3 separate regions of the Homo sapiens genome follow, and regions 1 and 3 are each linked to region 2. The links are contacts of gene promoters, found by promoter capture Hi-C in blood cells and fetal thymus (Javierre and others, 2016). All regions are on one chromosome and are shown on one strand. The core of a region is centred on a gene start or on the middle of the fragment in contact, and the rest is flanking DNA. Distances in the headings are between cores, read along the strand shown. Region 1 holds the start of CD68 (CD68 molecule). Region 2 holds the start of ACAP1 (ArfGAP with coiled-coil, ankyrin repeat and PH domains 1). Region 3 holds the start of SENP3 (SUMO specific peptidase 3).

Region 1 (3,312 bases), core at 793-3,292, 240 kb before region 2:
AAAGTGCTGGGATTACAGGCATGAGCCGTCATGCCCGGCTTTCTTTTTGTTCTTCAAGAAAGGGAAGGAAAATAACATTGTCTTTGAGCCAGTTGCGTGTCGAGGAAATAAGGGTACCCCCCCACCACACCCCAACCCCCTCAGTGCCCTGGGGTTTGAAGCAAATGCTCAGAGGGCCTGGTAGGCGGATGGGCGTCTCCGGATGATGCAGAAAGCAATAAGCACCAGGGCGAGGAGGCCAAGAAGGATCAGGCCGATGATGAGAGGCAGCAAGATGGACCGGTCACTGGGGCAGGAGAAACCTGGCGGAAGGATAGGGCAGGTAGGTATTTGCAGTGACGTGCTGGTTGGGATAAAGGTGGGAGGAGGGAATGGGGGGATGCTGGGGAGTAGGAGATTGGTGAGGAGCTCACCGCAGTGACTCAGCAGTGATAAAAGGGGGAAACTGGCAGAGTCTTGTAGAGGATGGAAAGAAAGCTGCCCTGTAGCCATGACAAGCTGGGAGAGCGAGATTTGGGGGGTTAAGAAGAGAGATGAGTGGCTTATGGGCCTGGGGAAGGGGTTTTCAGTGCAGTGGGAGGATTCTAGGAGGGAAGGAGTAGGTAGGTCTTACTTTGCCCAAAGACCCCTGTGTGGGGCAGCTGAGCAGCCTGGAGCCTCAGGGAGAGCAGGTCGAGGTGGACAGCTGGTGAAAGAATGATGCTCGAGTTGCTGCAACTGAAGCTCTGCCCCAGGGGTGCTTGGAGATCTCGAAGGGATGCATTCTGAGCCGAGAATGTCCACTCTGGAGGAGTGAGGAAGGGTCAGATCCTATCCACCTCCCTGGCCCCAGCTTAGTCCTTTCAGGAACCCTGGCGTCTAGTGGTAGCAATGAGAAAGGGAAGGAGGTTACTTACGTGCTGCGTGGGGGAAGGACACATTGTACTCCACCGCCATGTAGCTCAGGTAGACAACCTTCTGCTGGAGGTCCTGTGGGGCGAAGAGGAAGGCGCAGGTGGTATCCCTCTCCACAGAGGAAGGAGTAGCGTGTGGGATTGGGAGGGGAGGGGCGCCGGGAGGCTGAGTGAGGGGTGAGACTGAGGTCATGGCTATACCTGCATGAATCCAAAGCTGAGGTGTCCATAGGGGAATGAGAGAAGCAGGTGGGGATGGGCACCCTCACAGCTTCCCTGGACCTTGGTTTTGTTGGGGTTCAGTACAGAGATGCCCCAGGCCTGCGGAAGTTAAAGACTGGAAGGTCACAAGACTGCATGCGATGCCGGCCAAGGTTCCCTGTCCCCTCTTCCTTCTTCCCTCTGAGCCTATATCCAGTCCTGCCTCCCTCCCCTCTCATCCCCCAGTTTTAGCTTTACCTCTCCTCCACCCTGGGTTGTGTACATGACTCGAATCTGAATCTGGGCTTGGAGGTGGACACAGGGCTGGGAACCATTGGTCCACGTGTAGTCTCCAATGGTCTCCTTGGAGGTTGGGCTAGGACTCGGAGAGGGTGGAGGTGGTTCTGGGTGGGCAGAACTGGTGAATCCTGGGCTGGTGGCAGTGCTGTTGCTTGTTGGATGAACCGTGGCATTTCCATGACTAGTGGTGGCAGGACTGTGAGTGGCAGTTGAGGGTCCCTGGCTGGTGGCAGTGCTATTGCTTGTTGGATGAACTGTGACGTTTCCATGGCTGGTGGTGGTGGGGTTGTGAGTGGCAGTCGTGGGTCCGTGGCTGGTGGTGCCTGTGGTGGTTGTCCTGTGAGTGGTGGTTTTGTGGCTCTTGGTAGTCCTGTGGCTGGTTGTTCCAGTGCTCTCTGTAACCGTGGGTGTCACCGTGAAGGATGGCAGCAAAGTAGCTGATTTTTTGTGAGGACAGTCATTCCCTGTCCCCTGGGCTTTTGGCAGAGAGGAGATGGTTAGCAACCCAGGGCAGGCTCCCTCCCAGGGGCCCCCTCCCCTCAGCCTCCTTCCTCCTTACCTGCCAGTAGCCCCAGCAGGGCCCCCGAGAAAAGCACAGCCAGCCTCATGGCTGAACCGCCTCACCCAAAGTCCAGCTAGGCTGTCTGCACCAGTTGCTCAACCCTGCTCCCTCAGCCCTCTCTTGGAAAGGAGGAAATGAAAGTCTCACTTCCTGTACTGGAGATGATCCCACCCACAGCCTGACTCAGGGGCCTCAGCTCTAGCCACCTCTCTCTTAGTCATTAGTTTTTGTAATTAAGTTAGGGGACTGTTGGCCCTGCTTCATCAGGGCAAAGTCAACAGTGTCACATGGGTGCAAACGGAGTCCTAGGGCAGTTGATCCACAGGGATCCATGTGTCAAACTCAGCGAAACTTGCTTGGCAGTTGTGGCAAGTAGCTATGGGAACAGCTGAGGTACAGGCCCCTCCCTTGGTGGGGAAATCGGTTTCCACTCCTTTCCCCTGGACCTCTGGGCTGACCCCTGTACTACTTCCTCTTGGCTGAGGCATGTGAGGGGCTTGTGACCATCCACACCCAGCCCTTTACAGAGGGGCAGCACTCCAGTCAGCATTGTCATTCACAGAGCCGAGAACATGGCTTTCCAGCGTCTGAGAACTCAGATGGTGACAAGAAAGCAACAGCCCAAAGGTAACCATCTGCTGGGGAAGGGGGGAGCAGAGATGCACCCAGTAGCAGGTGGGAGAGGGAAGGGGAGGTAAGAAATGAGAAGCCCAAACAGGCAGTTTCCAAGTCATTTTATTCAGAATTTTGTGTTTGTTTCCTGAATCAATAAATACTATACAAAACAATGTAAAAATGGCTACCATTTTCTCTCCCCTGCTTCCCCCCACCTGGGGACAACCCCCTGGGCAACCTCACTTAGGGGTTTTAGGGGTTCTCCCTCCAGATTTGGTCCAGCAAATGAGGCTGAGTGACATAGTCCCTTGAATCACTTTCAAAGGAGCTCAGCTGAGGTGAGGAGAGCCTCTGGGATCTGGAGGTTACTAGGTTAGGGAAATGGATTAGTGTTTTTTTTTTTTTTTTGGGAGAAGAGCCGGCGCCTGGGGCAAGAGCCTACCCCAAAGAAAAGGGTGTCTAAAATGTTCACGGTTCCTTCTTTTGCCTCAAAAAGTGACATTTATTCAAAGAAAAAAAATGACAAGATGTCCATCCCTTGGCTCCCTTCCCTCCCCCCTCCTGCTGCTCCTCAGCCCCCAGAGATTGAGCCCTGGCTGGGGCTGGGTGGCAGGACAGCCCCTCAGATGAGGTCAGCAACATTGAGGGGCATTTCCTCAATGGAGGTGTTGTAGAAGGTCTCAATGTCTCGAAGAGTCCTCTTGTCTTCTTCTGTCACCATGTTAATAGCCACACCTTTAC
Region 2 (4,924 bases), core at 996-3,495:
GGAGTTCCAGACCAGCCTAGGTAACATAGGGAGACCCCATCTCTACAAAAAATAAATTTAAATTTAAAAAAGCCAGGCGTGGTGGCATGTGCCTGTAGCACAGCTACTGGGGAGGTTGAGGAGGGAGGATCACTTGAGCCCAGTATTGAAGCATCTGGGATCACAGCTGTGGCCACTCCATCCAGTCCATTGTTTAAAATTATTATTTGTAGGCCGGGTGCGGTGGCTTAAGCCTGTAATGCCAGCACTTTGGGAGGCTGCGGCAGGTAGATCATTTGAGGTCAGGAGTTCAAGACCAGCTTAGCCAACATGGTGAGACCCTGTCTTTACTAAAAATACAAAAAGAAAAAAAATTATCCAGGTGTGGTGGTGCACACCTGTAATCCCAGCTACTTGGGAGGCTGAGGTAGGAGAATCACTTGAACCTGGGAGGTGGAGGTTCCAGTAAGCCGAGATCGCACCACTGCACTCCAGCCTGGGTGACAGAGCGAGACTCCATCTCAAATAAATAAAAATAAAAATAAAATTATTATTTGTAGAGATGAGGTCTCACCATGTTGCCCATAAAACAATGTTGCCCACTAAATTTGTGACAATTTGTTACACAGCAATAGAGAACTAATATATAGCAAGCAAATACATAATGTGTCAGAGGTAAATGTTGCAGAGAAAAGTAAAGCGAAGTAAGGGGAATGAGAGAGCATTTGAGTGTGTATTTGTGTGAACATGCTGTTTGATAGAGTGCTCAGGGGACACCTTACTGTCTTGAATTGAAACGTTTCACTGGTTTGTCTTCTAGTCAGCCTTTGGGCTCCGTGGGAGCAGAAATGATCTTGTCCTCCCTGAATGCCCAGGGCCTGGCACAATGCAGGAGCTCAAGAGCAGAACAAGGAAGTCCAAAATTAAGTCTTTTTTTTTTTGACACAGAGTCTCGCTCTGTCGCCTAGCCTGGAGTGCAGTGGTGCGATCTTGGCTCACTGCAACCTCCGCCTCCCAGGTTCAAGTGATTCCTCTGCCTCAGCCTCTTGAGTAGCTGGAGCTACAGATGGGTGCCACTAAGCCTGGATGATTTTTGCATTTTTAGTAGAGATGGGGTTTCGCCATGTTAGCCAGGCTGGTCTAGAACTCCTGACCTCAGGTGATCCATTCACCTTGGCCTCCCAAAGTGCTGGGATTACAGGCATGAGCTACCATGCCTGGCCCAAAAGTAAGTCTTGTTTTCCAAGATCCTGAGCTTCTTGTCGGTACAGAACCACCTTTTTTGCTTCTCTGCAGTCTCCAAAATATCTCCCCTACACAGTATTCAATAATCCCTGGGATGCATTCTGTGTCTCCAGCTTTCTCCCTGGCCCTACCCCTCTCAACCTAATCCACTCCTGGGTCACCTCTCCATGTCAGGGTCACCTTTTCCAGACGGGTCTCCAATTCTGACACTTCGGCTTCCACCAGCTCAATAGAGGCTCTGGGAAAGAGGGGGTCATGGGAAGAGAGCTTGGGTCCATCTGGTCTGTCTGCCTCATCAGGCGGGATGGAGTCGCAGGGCGGTGGGTACGGAGGAGAAAGCTGCAGAGTTGAGAGGCTCGCCCCCCACCCACCTACTTGTGCTCTGCCCGCTCTGCAGTCTGGGAGCTACCACAGCCCAGGCCAGAGCAGGAAGGGTAGAAGGAGGGTGGATGTGGCCAGGGCAGGAAGTTGCTAACCGCCCCAGAGCAGGTGCTGGGGGAGGGGCAGGGGTCCCACTGAGAGGCCAGAGGGAATGCCAGCTCTAGGGGTGAGGGAAACTGCAGAGGCCAGGAGGAGCATGCAGGGGCAGAGAGCATTGGAGTACCCTGCTTTCACAGCTGGGGTACCACTTTGGCCCACAGGCTCGCTCCTGCCTCTTAGAGGCCTGCTCCCTGGAAGGAGACCTGGCCTGGGGAAAGGTGTGTGTGTGCTGGGGGTGTTAGACTTTCCCCTCCTTAGCCCCCCAGACCAGTTCACACTTACCGGAAACGGGGTGAGTCCTTGAGACACTCCTCGAAATCCAGCTTGACCGTCATCTCAGCTTGCCTGCTGTGGGGCCAGCGGGCCCTGGAGGCCGGGCCCCTGGGGATGCAGGTGGAGGCACTTTCTGTCCCAGGAAGGGGAGATGAGGGGGAAGGAGGAGAGGGACCTCCGCGGGGAAGGGCCTGGGGGCACAATTCTTTCCCCAAGGGGAAAGGGGTGTCCTAGGAGGAGCTCTCACCCCACACTTCCAGGCAGTGCTGGGAGGGGCAGGGGCGGGGCCTGGGCGGAGGATGGGGGCCTGAGATCAGAGAAGCCACAGCCCCACCCTCAGAGACGATCTGCCAGCTCCTTCCTCCTGGGGCTCTAGCCTCTGTTTCTTTCTCTCTTCGTGGTTATCTTGGGGGCCTGGCAGATCTAGGTTCAAATCCTGGCTCTGTCACTTAGAGGTTATGTGCCCCTGGACGAGCTCTCTGATTCCTCAGTTTTCTCATCTGGAAGATGGGAATGATAACCCCTTCCTCCAGGGCTGTACGAAGTGAAGAAGGTGATAGCAGTAAATTCATGGTTCACTAAATTTATTTATTTATGAGACGGAGTCTCCCTCCATCGCCCAGGCTGCAGTGCAGTGGCGCGATGTCGGCTCACTACAACCTCCGCCTCCTGGGTTCAAGCAATTCTCCTGTCTCAGCCTCCCGAGTAGCTGGGACTACAGGCTCCTGCCATCATGCCCGGCTAACTTTTTGTATTTTCAGTAGGGACGGGGTTTCACCTTGTTGGTCAGACTTGTCTCGACCTCCTGACCTCAGGTGATCCACCCACCTCGGCCTCCCAAAGTGCTAGGATTACAGGCGTGAGCCACTGTGCCCAGCTGGTTCACTATATTAATTGCATCAGTCATTGTCATCCTGCTACAGCTTGGGCCTGCTCCTGTGGAGTCCAGTACCCCGGACTGCTCCCAGCTTTCTTCGTTTTGCCGTCATATTCATGGTTCCTGTGTGTGAACTCCCCTTCCTCCTCCCCTCTCCTCAACGACTGAGCAGGCCCAGCCTGAGCACCCGATTCACAGCTCCCAGACTCTTGCTCTTCTGCTCTTTATTTCTATTCATAGGGTGGTCATGAAGGGAAGGTTGCCCCCACTCCGCCCCCAACCAGCCCCATTTTCCATTGTTTGCTTTCCTTTTCTTGAGTCCATTGAAGTCCCAGGGTTTCATCTGGAGAGAAGAGTTTGAGTTCATGGCTTTCTCGTAGCAGGCATGAGATCTTGTCCATGTGACTCTGGATCCCCTAGAACCTCCCCACTCAGCTCCTCTACCTCCCTGGCCAGTGTATGCATCCCCTTGCCTCTGCCCAGGCTCAGTGTGCCAGGCTGTGCTTGTTCTGGCTTGAGGAGTTGGGGTTGCTTCCACTCTCCCTCTCTGAACTCCTTGGGCTTTGCCAGCTCAGCCCCCCAGCCACCAGCTGGACACCACTTGAGACTCACTGTCTTTGGAGGACAGAGAAATACCTGGAGTGGGGTGGTGTGGCAGAGGAGTGAAGGAGGAGGCATGGAGCCAGTGTGTGGTGCCAAGCTGGAGGGGGTCCCAACCGCCTCTGAGTCTCCCTGGTTCCTCGCCTGTCCAATGTGGACCTTGGACTTGAGGCTGTTCAGGGCCTCTCCTTCCACCTGTTGCTGATGTACTGGCCTGAAAGAATTGGAGGGCTGGGAGATGGGAGCTTGCCAAGAGACAGCCCCAGGGAGATGGTGGCCTGGTGCCCTCAACAGGCTGCAATGTTGTCATTGTTGCCATCAGGGAGCTCTCCGTGGCCTTGTGATCCCTAAAGGGGCCTCCCATGTGGTCCAGTAGGTGGACTTCAGTGCTTACGGGGTTCTCAATCACCTAGGTCAAGCTTGTGGAGCCTAGAATCAGGGATCAGGGCTCGGGTACCCATCAGGCTGTGCATTCCCAGCCCTCCTGCCCCCTAGGCTGGCCTGCCCAGGTTCTCACCATCCTGATGCTCATCTTCCACGTCCTCTACAAGCTCTGGGTGGGAGCAGGACCTCAGGTATAGTCCTTTGCCATCATATTCCTTGTGCTGCAGAGCAATCTCCTGCCCCAATATGATAGTGGCCACAGCTGGGGGGACTGATTTCTGTAGGTGGAGGAATCTGAGGAATCAATCAAATGAATCCAAGTCTTCTAGCCATCTGGTGTATCCATGCCTCCCAGGTGTCTGTTGTGGGCCCTCACCAGAGGGGAGAAGCTCAGGCCCCAGATCCTCATCTCACTGACTTCTCTTACCCTTCCCATTTTAGAAAAACTTCAGTGACCGCTCCACCTCCCCCCATGGTTGTCTCGGACTTTTGTTTATTTTTTTATTTATTTTTTGAGACAAGATCTTGCTATGTTACCCAGGCTGGAATGTGTTAGTGCCATCATCGCTCACGGCAGCCTCAAACTCCTGGGCTCAAGCTATCCTCCCACCTTAGCCTCCCCAGTAGCCTGGACTACAGGTGCACGCCACCACACCTGGCTAATTAAAAACAATTTTTTTCTTTTTCTTTTTTTGTAGAGATGAGGTCTCCCTACGTTGCCCAGGCTGGTTTTGAACTTCTGGCCTCAAGCAATCCTCCCAAAGTGCTGGGATTACAGAAGTGAGCCACTGGGCCTGGCCAACAAATCAGCCCCCAATCAGACTTTCTGTTCCTCAACAGCCAATAATCTCCGGGGACTATCCTGAGTGGGGTCCTTCCTCCAGCTGCCCTCTTTCTTCCCTGGGGTTACTTCCCAGCATTACCTCCCTGTCAGGCAGCAGAGTCTTGGGCTGATAGCCACTGAGGAAGACAGACTGTGGTAGAGAAGTGAGGAACGGGCTCTGGAATACAACCCCCTCTAGTCCCTGGAGCCCCGCCATCGCTAACCCTCGGCTTCAAGGATGTGCCTCCAGGTGACCAGGCCTG
Region 3 (4,922 bases), core at 705-3,204, 230 kb before region 2:
GCTTTCTCCCCAGGCCTCTCTGCCTCTTCTGCCATGCCCAAATCTGAGCCCTGAAAAAGCTCCTGGGCCACATGGTCCCCGATGCTGCACACATTGCTGATGAGGATGCTGGCATCAGGGGGTGCCAAGCTGCGCTCCCCTTCTGGCCCAGATTGTCCCCCAAAACCGTTGGGCAGAGTACATGAAAGGAGGCCTATAGGGCAGGGGAAATGGAATGGGCATGAGAGACTGGCCTGGGGAAAGCACAATGGGATGCACACAGTTGACTCATGCATGCAAATAAGACCGCAAGAAGGATACACTGAAGCAGAATCCACCAATGTCAATCCCACTCCAAGAAATGGGGACCCCATAAGCATGAGATAAACATGTCCAAGAGATTCTACAGGGATGGAGAGAGAGTTCCTACTCATAGACAGGAAGAAAGAAAAAGGATTAGCATTTAGAAATGAAAACTTCGGGATATTTGTCACCACTATATGCCAAACACCCAGCATAGTACCCAGCATATTGTAAAGGCTCAATGAATACTAGAATATGTAATAAAGACCTAGAGAGCCTGAAACTGTTTGGCTGGAGTTCTCCGAAAGGGAAATATTCTTTCACAACTGTAAGATGATGTACTCCACTACTGGGAGAGATCCCATCCCGTCACTTTGGGAATGGTACCCTCTGGAGATGTATACACGGGGGTTCTTATACTGAGAGGCCGACAAGGGATTTCGTGTGGACAGGATTTTTGTAAACCACATCTCCCTTTCTCATCTGCGCTCAAGACCACGGGATACCTACTTAGGGCATCTGTTTCCTAGCTCTGCCTGGGAAACTGCCAGGCTCACTCCCAGGCTTACTTTCTGCTCAAAGTGGGGCTTAATGGAGACATTTCGCAGCTCTTCTGGAGCCGGCACTCTTCCATCCTACTTTCCTTAAGCCCAGCTCTCACCATGGCAACAGGCTCCTGGTGCTCCAGGCTCTTAACCCTCCCTAACCCCTCCCCCGCAACCCCACACCCCTTTCCCACCTTACCCGAGTCAGGGTCCAGAGGAGACTTTGGAGTCCACCTGAGTCCATCTTCCTCCATGGGGGGCCCAGAGGGCACTGGTGGAGACCCTCTCACCCCATCCTCAGCCATGAGAGCACCTAGCAGACCCAGCCGGGGTGGAGGTGGCCCCCGGGGGGAGTCAAAACGACAACAGGGGGATGGCACCTGTGGCGTCGCACCCCCTTGCTGGGGTGAAAGATGGTTCTTGGGGTGTGCGAGGCCCCGCCGCCGGCCCCGGTGGCGCCCCCAAAGCTTCCAGTGGAATGTCAGCGAGGTGCTTTTTGAGTAGAGCAGCATCCGGAAGGCTCTCATGGCTCGGCGGCGGCGCTGTGAGCAGGTTTTTCGATGAGTGGGGCGGGAAGGGCGGGGCCGCTGGGAGGTTCCCAGCTGACTCCATCTTGGGGGCAGCCTCCAAGCTGCCACTTCCTCCTCTTCATCTTCATCCTCCTCCTCCTCCTCTTCTTCCTCCTCTTCACTTGCTGAGGCATCAAAAGAGGGTCGGGGGACAGGGAGGCGTCTGGCTGGCACTGTGGTCCCTGACCCAGGATCTGGCCCAAACCCTCCACCTGACTTGAGTCGGGGTTTGGGAGGTGGGGGCCAACGAAGACGCTCCCGCCTGGGACTTGAGTAAGCTGGGGGTATGCCGGGTCCAGGAGGCTCAGGCCCCCAGGACCCGGTCCCTTGTATAGTCTCTTTCATCTTCCAGTACCCTGAAAAACAAAAGATCAGGGTATCAAAATCTAAGCATCACCCCACCGCAGATCCTGCCTCTCTTCCTGGCCATGCCTCCTCTGGATTCAGATGCAAATAAAGAAAAGAGGAAAAAACGCAAAACTCCTAACTTAAGATCTTCCCGGTTAACGCGGTCCACAAGGGGCCCTTCAGGGTCTGTGCCATCATCTCTCCCCAGTCCAGAGACAAGGGAAAATGGCTAAGCAGCAGGCCTCAGAGATCTTATTTCTAAGATCACCAGGCCAAACCCAATAGCACTGCCAGGTTCTACGTCTTTATTTTAATACCACCAGGGCTGTCCTTTGAGGGCCCAACAAGGGCAGTTTCTTTCCTCAGGGACATGATAACCGTGGTACTTGAGGAGAATGCAACTTGCACGTGGAAACTGGACTGGAATGGGAGACAGTTCTCTAACACCCTGGATGAACGGGGGGCATGGGAAGGCTGCGGTCATCTCAAGTGCAGATGCCAGGGATATGGTTCAGGGGGCAGAGGCTGATAAACGGGGAAGAACTTTGAAGGAAACTTAAAGAGAACCGAATCAAGACGCTGGGACAGAACGGAGCGCACAAGCCAGGCCGGCCCAGCCCCCTCCTACTTCATCCTCGGGGACCAGAATGCAACCCGGCACCAGTCCGGTCCCACGAGCTTGGATGGCTCGGCGCACACGGGCCTTAAGAAGCCCCTATGCGGGCCTCTGGGCCCCGGTTCGGTGGGAGCGAGGCCCAGGAATGGGAGAGGCCAAGGCAGGGCTGGGGGGAGGGGAGGGGGCGTCCTCACCGGGAGCGGGGAAGCCGGGCGGACGGGCCCGAAGGCGGGCGTCTCCGGCCTCAAGCTTCCCGGCTCATCTCTCCGGCGACGGCGGCGGCCCCGCCACTCCTGCTGTCTTTAGGCGCAGCCGTCTCAATTCAGGATTCCAACGCTTCTGGGCCGCGTGCCGCGCCGCCGAGCACCCCGCCGCGCCGCCTCTGGCTCTGCTTCAGCTTCAGCTTCCACCTCCACCTCCACCTCCGCCACCGCCGCCACCAGCGCCACCGCCGCCGCCGCCACTCCTCCCCCCCTCCTCCTTCCCCTCCCGCGAGCCCCGGGCCCACCGGCAGCGGTGGCGCACGATTAGTACGTCACACCCGGCGAAGAGCGCCGGCGCGGCCACCAAGCGCGCGGTCCCGTCTACCCGAGGACGCCGGCGCCACGGGACTGGCCAGCCCAGAGCGCTACGCGAGGCTGCGCCTGCGCACATCCGCCGCCCGGCCGCGCGTGGCGGCCCCGCCACTTTCCCTTTTGCGCCGCGCTCTGTCTTCTCCGCGCTCGCGGGCCTGACCCTAGCGGCATCCCCAGTACCTTGATCCGGCGGGGGGCGCGCCACAGGAGAGCCAGGAGGGCGGGAGATCCCCGTACGAGGACCGGGCTGAGGCGAGGCAGTGGGGGAAATGGAGCCGGGGTATCATTCATTCTATTTTATTTAACTTTAAGCAGGGCTTGATCAGAAAGAAGAGCTCAGAGGAGTGAGGCAACACCAACACCAGGGCGTACGATACACCCGAGGCTCCTCCGACACCAGTTCCAGCCCGGAAGGGCTTGGAATGGCCTGCCACGCCGGGGCAATGGAGCGCGTGAAAGCCAAACCTTGGGACCCGAAGAGTAATTTGACTGCGAAGGCACCGTCATCGTCGGGCACCCCCTGTAGACGGGCGCATAATAGCTACATCTCTGGAGATAGTGATGGAAACTGGGGTCCGATAGATGGAGAGAAGGACGTAGGATAAGGCTTCTTGTGGGGTGAAGAGGCAGAGGGCACCTGGAGAGAGGTGTGGCATGGAGAACCAGGGGTTTTCCCTAGCAGAGGGCGGCTTCGTGGACTTCGGCCAACCGGCGGGTGCTTCCCTCGAGCGGCCGCTAGATGGTGGTGCTGTTCTGGATGCTTCCAGTGGGCCCCGACCAGGTCTGGACAATGCCTGGCGCCCGTCCCCCGCCCCTCATCTACACACACGCAAGAATTCGGAGCTCCATGGGGAACAGAAGCAAGATATCCGTAAAATCAAAGTCTAGGGGGTGGGAATGAAAAGGGAAAAGTGAGGAACGGGGAGCCAAACCCAGGAAGACGCCTCTGTTCCTGCACATTCCCTCTCCTTTATATACTCAGCTCTTGGCTGTCTCCAGTATGTACCCACCCTGGTCTTCCAAGCTGGGAGCCACTTTTTATAACACAATCACAGTTTCACAAACCCCAGGAAGGTTCCATGTGGAGAGAGGTTAAGTTTCGCCCTTGCCCGGGGAATTATGACACTCAGAATATCCCCTTGGTGTAAATGGAAGACACCTGAGAAAAGAGAGAAAGTAGATTCGCAGTGAAGCACAGCCATCCAGATGCCCTGTTTCCCCCTGCCTTCTCCAGCTCCACCGTTCCTCTGCCTCCTGTAAGGACCCGGCATTCTGCACTTCACTCCTCAGACCCGCCTCTGTTTAGGTTTCCAACCTCCCTCCTAGCGGTAGCTCCCTGCACTGCTACCCCCGGTCAGAGACGTCCTGCTTTCGGCTGCCCACACGGCTCTCACCTGCGCTATAGCAGCTGTTGTAGGCCCGGTCCGGGTGGGAGGGCATACTTCTTATACATCGGAATAGAGTCTCCTGCCTTCCTTGGCCTTCTCGAGACACCACCTGACCCATGGTGAAAGTCACGTCTTGAAACAGGACCTGGCAGGGAAGGGAGATGTTGAAGAAAACAGGATGGCCTGGCTCAGTTCTGGGAGGCCTCAGGAGCGCTAACGAGGGAAGAAAGAAGGGTCTGCTGGGTTTGGTATGAATAGAGGGGTCAGGAACCCTCAGTAGGGGGCCAAAGAGGCCCTCTGTGAAGCTCAGAGTGTGGCTGGGGTTACCTGGCTATACAGCAGATAAACTCCAGCATCCTGGATTCGGACACCATATCCTTGGGCCTGTAGGCCTCTCCCACGCCTAAGAGCTGGTTGCCACATCACCTCTGTCACATCGGAGTCATCTGGAGGTGAGAGTGTGTCGGTCAGGACTTCTTGGCACTCTCAGGTGCTTTTTGGTTCTTTCCCTTTCACCTATAAGGACCCCTTGAGCCCAAGTGCCAGCCCGAGTTCCTGGTTATTGCCCCTCCCCAAAGCCATTATTTAAAATAGTGCTC

The links. The method cuts DNA at HindIII sites, captures the fragments that hold promoters and counts their contacts. A CHiCAGO score of 5 or more calls a contact.
Region 1: a contact is called between the fragment with the promoter of CD68 here and the fragment with the promoter of ACAP1 in region 2, in 14 of 17 cell types (fetal thymus, total B cells, neutrophils and 11 more). The highest score is 11.3, in fetal thymus.
Region 3: a contact is called between a fragment that was not itself captured here and the fragment with the promoter of ACAP1 in region 2, in 11 of 17 cell types (fetal thymus, total CD8 T cells, erythroblasts and 8 more). The highest score is 13.4, in fetal thymus.

Annotation. Positions count from the first base shown.
Region 1 is chr17:7,578,368-7,581,679 of GRCh38, reverse strand. It overlaps CD68 (CD68 molecule), which reads right to left and starts at 2,042. Exons shown (of 6, transcript NM_001251.3): 1 at 1,954-2,042; 2 at 1,353-1,870; 3 at 1,095-1,214; 4 at 897-969; 5 at 614-784; 6 at 1-302. The coding sequence starts at 2,002. The coding sequence ends at 169. It overlaps EIF4A1 (eukaryotic translation initiation factor 4A1), which reads right to left. Exons shown (of 11, transcript NM_001416.4): 11 at 2,674-3,312. The coding sequence ends at 3,194. It overlaps SENP3-EIF4A1 (SENP3-EIF4A1 readthrough (NMD candidate)), which reads right to left. Exons shown (of 22, transcript NR_037926.1): 22 at 2,674-3,312. RefSeq lists enhancers at 1,148-1,217, 1,318-1,377 and a silencer at 2,853-3,041. The HindIII fragment of the contact is 9,128 bases long and covers 1-3,312 here.
Region 2 is chr17:7,333,850-7,338,773 of GRCh38, reverse strand. It overlaps ACAP1 (ArfGAP with coiled-coil, ankyrin repeat and PH domains 1), which reads right to left and starts at 2,245. Exons shown (of 22, transcript NM_014716.4): 1 at 1,987-2,245; 2 at 1,405-1,462. The coding sequence starts at 2,039. RefSeq lists enhancers at 1,279-2,040, 2,041-2,802 and a silencer at 2,174-2,383. The HindIII fragment of the contact is 9,667 bases long and covers 1-3,875 here.
Region 3 is chr17:7,559,896-7,564,817 of GRCh38, reverse strand. SENP3 (SUMO specific peptidase 3) reads right to left here and starts at 2,899. Exons shown (of 11, transcript NM_015670.6): 1 at 2,555-2,899; 2 at 1,027-1,752; 3 at 1-193. The coding sequence starts at 1,741. It overlaps SENP3-EIF4A1 (SENP3-EIF4A1 readthrough (NMD candidate)), which reads right to left and starts at 2,826. Exons shown (of 22, transcript NR_037926.1): 1 at 2,555-2,826; 2 at 1,027-1,752; 3 at 1-193. TNFSF12-TNFSF13 (TNFSF12-TNFSF13 readthrough) reads right to left here. Exons shown (of 11, transcript NM_172089.4): 9 at 4,651-4,769; 10 at 4,330-4,468; 11 at 3,217-4,094. The coding sequence ends at 3,985. It overlaps TNFSF13 (TNF superfamily member 13), which reads right to left. Exons shown (of 6, transcript NM_003808.4): 4 at 4,651-4,769; 5 at 4,330-4,468; 6 at 3,217-4,094. The coding sequence ends at 3,985. RefSeq lists enhancers at 1,433-2,129, 3,396-3,645 and a silencer at 2,756-2,835. The HindIII fragment of the contact is 1,315 bases long and covers 1,297-2,611 here.